2 separate regions of the Homo sapiens genome follow, and region 1 is linked to region 2. Evidence: promoter capture Hi-C in human tissues and cell types (Jung and others, 2019). All regions are on one chromosome and are shown on one strand. The core of a region is centred on a gene start or on the middle of the fragment in contact, and the rest is flanking DNA. Distances in the headings are between cores, read along the strand shown. Region 1 overlaps P4HA1 (prolyl 4-hydroxylase subunit alpha 1). Region 2 holds the start of ANXA7 (annexin A7).

Region 1 (2,700 bases), core at 162-2,661, 350 kb after region 2:
AGTGCGGAGCTATTAAAAAGTTTGTAAGGGAAATTTATGATTTTTCCTTTTAGAAAACCATTCTGGCTGCCGAATGGAGATTGGGTTGGGGCCAAGGGACGAAGAACCAGGGAGGAGGCTGTTGCAAATATTTAAGTAAGAGGTGGTAGTGGATAGATTATCAAGCTACTTATTAGAGTAGAATAGTAGAATTTGATGATGTACTTGATAGGAATTTCTGGCTTCATCAACTGGATAGATTCCATTTAACAAAATAGGGCTGGCATGGTGGCTCATGCCTGTAATCCCAGCACTTTGGGAGGCTAAGGTGGAAAGGATCCCTTGAGGGTAGGAGTTCAAGACCAGCCTGGGCAGCATAGCAATTCCCTGACTCTACAAAAAAATGAAAACTTAGCTGGGTGTTGTGGTGCTTGCTTGTAGTCCTAGCTATTTGGGAGGCTGAGGTGGGATGTATTCACACTGCTATGAAGAAATACCCAAGACTGGGTAAGTTATTTTAAAAAAGAGGTTTAATTGACTCACAGTTCCGCATGGCTACGGATGTCTTAGGAAACTCACAATCATGGCAGAAGGCACTTCTTCACAGGGTGGCAGGAAAGAGAATGAGGGCCAGCAGGGGAAATGCCAGGTGCTTATAAAACCATCCTATCTCATGAGAACTCACTGTCACAAGAACAGCATGGGGGAACTGCCCCCATGATGCAGTTATCTCCACCTTGTCCCGCCCTTGATAGGTGGGGATTATTAAAATTCAAGGTGATATTTGGGTGTGAACACAGAGCCAAACCATATCACGGGAGGATCACTTGAGCCCAGGAGTTCAAGGCTGCAGTGAGCTGTGATCACGCCACTACACTCCAACCTGGGCAACAGAGTGAGACCCCTATCTCAAAAAACAAAAAGCAAAAAAGAAAACATCCCACCTCAGCCTCCCAAATGTGTGGTGGTGGGTAATAAATGTTATTTAGATTACTATATGTGTTTTGTTTAAAAAATGATTATATTCCCATCAAAATGGTCCTGAATATTATTTAACCCTGATTTCACTGTGTTTAGTCTTAGGGGCAATATTCATTCTTTCTCAGGTGCTTTTTATCTCCTTGTTGACTTTTTTCCTCTTTTATCACAGTTTTGGGCTAGTTCTTATTGACTTTTCTTTCAGGCAAATTCCTTATAAGTAGAATAACTGAAATTTCCTAATCACATTATACCCTATAAGTGGTAAAAATAATAGCATGAATACTAGCATAAGAGTTTTTAGGCTCCCCCAACCCAGATTATTTTCTGTTGTTAATAGTCAAATATCACAAATGTGTTCGAAGGCTTCTTGTGCACCTTCCCTTGTTTAGAGGTAATGACTATTCTGAACTTGGTGCGTATCCTGTCATCTTTTTATACTTTATCATATATATTTTCCATTGTATTGTGTTTTTAAATTTTATGTCAATAGTACATCATACTCTATGTATCTTTCTACAACCTTTTTTTAACCTAATATTTTCAGTAAATTTATCTGTGTTGATCAGATTCATCTAACTGCTAATGTGGTATTGTATAACATTATTTATTCATTCTTCTGTGGATGGATGTACATTTAGATTTTGTCCAATTTTTTGCTTTATCAAATGAAGTTTGATACATCTTTGTTGATTTCTTTTTGTGGCCATGTACTCACGTGCAAGGCTTTCTCTTAGGGTATAAGAAATCATAGGGTATTTGGTTTTTCATCATACTTACCAGATGTGGCCAGATTGCTTTCCAGAGCATGTATTTATACTGTCACCAGCATTGTATGAGAGTTCCCATTTCTTCATATCCTTGCCAGCTCTTGGTTTTGTCAGACTTTAAAAATTTTAGCAATCTGGGTGTGAAATGGTGGGGGTGAGGGAGGAAGGATGCATGTATTTTAAATTTTCTTCAAACAAAAAAGTCAGAGAAATGCTTAGTGAATTTATATTGATGCCACATCACTCCTTGATTAGTTTCATCTGTTTCTTTTGCCTCTTTGGGCCTATCTTTTGAAATGCTTTGTTGGTATTTTAATGAAAAATCTGATAGGTTACATGCATTTTGACATCAGTGTTGTCCTTATAGTTCTTAAGGACTTCCTTCAGTTTTCAGATTGTTTGTTCCCAACCCTGATTTGTTGAATAGATCCATATCTGCCAAAGATATCATGCTTTTTTTTAAGCTGTGATTTTTTTTAGGGGGTGGGGGTCAGTAATAGAAAATGTCATATGTACAAAATTCAATTTGCTTCATGTGGAAGTTGAATGTTCACCCTTCTGGTCACTTGCATCACTGTCTTGGTAAGTTAATAAGGTAACTATAGCAAACAGTAGATTCTCCAGACATCTCTGGAGCTCACTCAGCTATCAGTGTACCACACTGCCTCAGAGGTGGGACATTAACTTCTAAGTGTGTGCATTTTAAACATAATTATCCCTTACAAATTAAGTTTTGATCCATTAAGTGTTCTTGTGAAGTGCAAGAATTTTTGGATTACGTGTCTCTCTCAGTTTAACGGATGATGTCTCTCTCAGTTTAACGGATGAACCATAAAAATCGATTTCTTTTTCTTTTTTGACATGGAGTCTCACTCTGTTACCCAGGCTGGAGTGCAGTGGCGCAGCTCGGCTCACTGCAACCTCTGCCTCCTGGGTTCAAGCGATTCTCTTGCCTCAGCCTCCCAAGTAGCTG
Region 2 (2,700 bases), core at 181-2,680:
GAGATGAGCAACCTTGAAAACAAGTCTAATTAAGATGAGTAATTGTTAAAAGATGAGCAGTGCTTTCTAAGCAGAGGTAGCAGGAGGAAAGGGTCTCCGATCCTGTAACGCCTTTTATGCCAGGAAGAAAGGATGAATTGAAAGGATGAAATGGCAAATGTCGTAGTAGACTATTGGACTATTCCTGCAGCTCAGGAAAGTGGGCTGGAAATAAGAGGTTTGGCAAATACCCTGTTATGGTGGTATTTAAGGCAGAGGGAGGGTTTGGAACGAGCTCACAAAGGGAACTCTAGAATGAACAGAGTAGGCTTCTCAGGGAAGGCTTAAATCCTGGAGGTCTCTGGGGTAGGTAGGACAGAAAGTCCTGTTATTTTCCAGGTAGACAGACTGTTGGGCGCCGGGGAATTAATGCTGGTCACCTAGAGAGTTGTGCATTTTGTCTACCATTGTTAAATGAGGCAATGACCTGCCTCAAATACTTTTCACTCCACACACCTATTTGGAAGCCACGTATATTTTGCTTGCTCTTCCCATTTAAAATCGTAATCCACTCTATTCCACCCCCATGAGGAAGCTTTTGGGTAGAAAAGTGTGTAGAGGAATAAGTAAGTTGATGTGCATCAGATGTGCAAACTTTAGTGTGCATCAGAACCACCTGGAAGGCTTGTTAAAACAGGTTGCTGGGCACCACCCGGGGAGTTTGATTCAGTAGGTCTAAGGTGGAGTTCAATAATCTGCGTTACTAACACGTTTCCAGGTGATGCTGCTGTTCGGGGGACCACACCCAGAAGCTACCTTTTACCACTCTAAAAGGTAGCTGATTGGTTTTCTCTGTAATATAAATTCCTTAACGAGTTTAAAATATTGATCTGAGCCCTCGTAATTGCCTCAAATGTTTAATGCTAATGTGTGTTCAATGCTGTAGCCACGAGGGGAGCCTAAAATCACCTAACAACTCCTTTCGGGAGTGATTTTGATTAGTTCATCTACAGTTCCAACTAAGATTTCCCACAAATATTACTTTCACAGGAGGCTAACAAAAAACGCCGTCTTTGTCCCCAGAAAATACCTGGAGGACGGTATTTCAGAGGCGGGGAGGCTGCACCAGCCTCCCAGTCTCAGCCCTTCTCTACCGCCCGCCACTGAAGGGGCCCCGGATACCCCCAGGACTGCTGCAACTTCCTAGGTGACTTGAGGCAGCCTTAAAAGGGATTGGTGCAGGGTCCTTGCGACAGATAAATGTGATTAAAAATCCGCTGGGCCACCCGAAGGGAGAGTCTTTTTCCCTCAGGTGGCGCCTAGGGGCGGGACTGAGGGACAGCCCGCTCCCCGCAGCGCCCTCTCCGGCTCCGGGGGTGTTCCCGGCTGCAGCCGCGATCCTAACGGGCTCGCGAGACGCCCCGCCCACCCTGGGCCCGCCCCCGGCTCCATCTTGCGGGAGACCGGGTTGGGCTGTGACGCTGCTGCTGGGGTCAGGTGAGGAGCGGCGCCCCCCTCCCTTTCCCACCTCGTCTGCCTCGGTGGTCTTGCCCTCGGCCAGCTCTGGGCGCTGCTGTCCCGGTGCTAGTGGGGCGCGGCTGGAGGGCAGTGTGGGCCTCCCGGATGGCGGCGACTCGGTTTGCGCGTCTCGTAGCCGGGCTGCCGGCCGGGGTGTGTTGGGGTGGCGTGGGTGAGGCGGCCGGCCTGGCTTACGGGAAGCCCTTCCGTCCGTTTGGAAATCCCAGGGACCAGTGGCGCCCCGCCCTCGGGCAGGTGGAGGGGCTGAGGCCGGAGCGTGGCCCAGCTGCCTCGCGGGAGGCTGAGTAGGGAAACGCACGGGCAGTGCTGAAAGCCGTCTGGCTGGTAGTGGCTGTACTTTCCGGTGACACAGCGAATTTAGGGAAACTTGGGGAAATTTTTACTGTGTTTAGTGAACCGTAGGACAGAATGCGCCAGGCCAAGGTCGTACACTGGTTCTCGTTTACAGTTCTTGGAAGCTATTCTAGAATAGCATTCCAGATTTGATTGCTGTTCCCCGACCAGCAGCAAATCTGTGTTGAAATTAGCTCATCCTGTGCAAACACTGCGCAAGGAAACCAAGGTGCAGAGGTAGATGGCTGATGTCCACCGTAAAGTGACAGACATGACGCTGTTGTCTTCCGACTGCCGTAAACGCCCTGATTTTTGCCAGCTGATGGCCAGCTAATCTGCTAAATGTGTCCGAATTAGATGATGAGTGTAATGAGTTACCTTCCAGGCAAGGAAAGAGTTTCAAGCACTGAATAGGTAAAAGAGATAATTTTGGCCACTGCAAACTTTCAGTCCTTTTCAGTGAGGACTGTCTTTCAGTCCTCACTGGTGGTTGGCTACCTACCTGTCCGTGCAGAGGACTAGCCATGCCTCCATGTTCTTTCTCCACATCACTGACGGATTTAAATGATCCTACCATACCTAGAAGCCGGTTTTGCAAAATTGTATTCGCTGTTGCGCGTATCTTCAGTCACCCTTCCTGTTTCGTGTATTTTTTCCCCCATAAATTTGCAACAGCTGCCTCTTGGGTTCCTGGGCTTCATGCCATCAATGAGAAACGGTGAGACCCAGCCCTTTTACTAACTGACTCACTGGGTGGAGGTGGTTTGGAAAACCAAAAATGATTTTCTAGTCTTTTAAAAGTGATTGCTAACAGAGAATGTTTAAAAAAAAAAAAAAAAAAGCCCGAGC

The links. The method cuts DNA at HindIII sites, captures the fragments that hold promoters and counts their contacts. A contact is called where the count stands out against the background at its distance.
Region 1: a contact is called between a fragment that was not itself captured here and the fragment with the promoter of ANXA7 in region 2, in 1 of the 25 tissues and cell types used here (hippocampus).

What each region holds. Positions count from the first base shown.
Region 1 is chr10:73,064,725-73,067,424 of GRCh38, reverse strand. The region is part of intron 5 of P4HA1 (prolyl 4-hydroxylase subunit alpha 1); the gene reads left to right. Among named protein-coding and RNA genes, the nearest start is that of P4HA1, 31 kb to the left of the region's middle. The HindIII fragment of the contact is 5,132 bases long and covers 1-2,700 here.
Region 2 is chr10:73,412,788-73,415,487 of GRCh38, reverse strand. It overlaps ANXA7 (annexin A7), which reads left to right and starts at 1,430. Exons shown (of 13, transcript NM_001156.5): 1 at 1,430-1,476. RefSeq lists a silencer at 1,247-1,806 and enhancers at 2,207-2,286, 2,297-2,416. The HindIII fragment of the contact is 7,160 bases long and covers 1-2,700 here.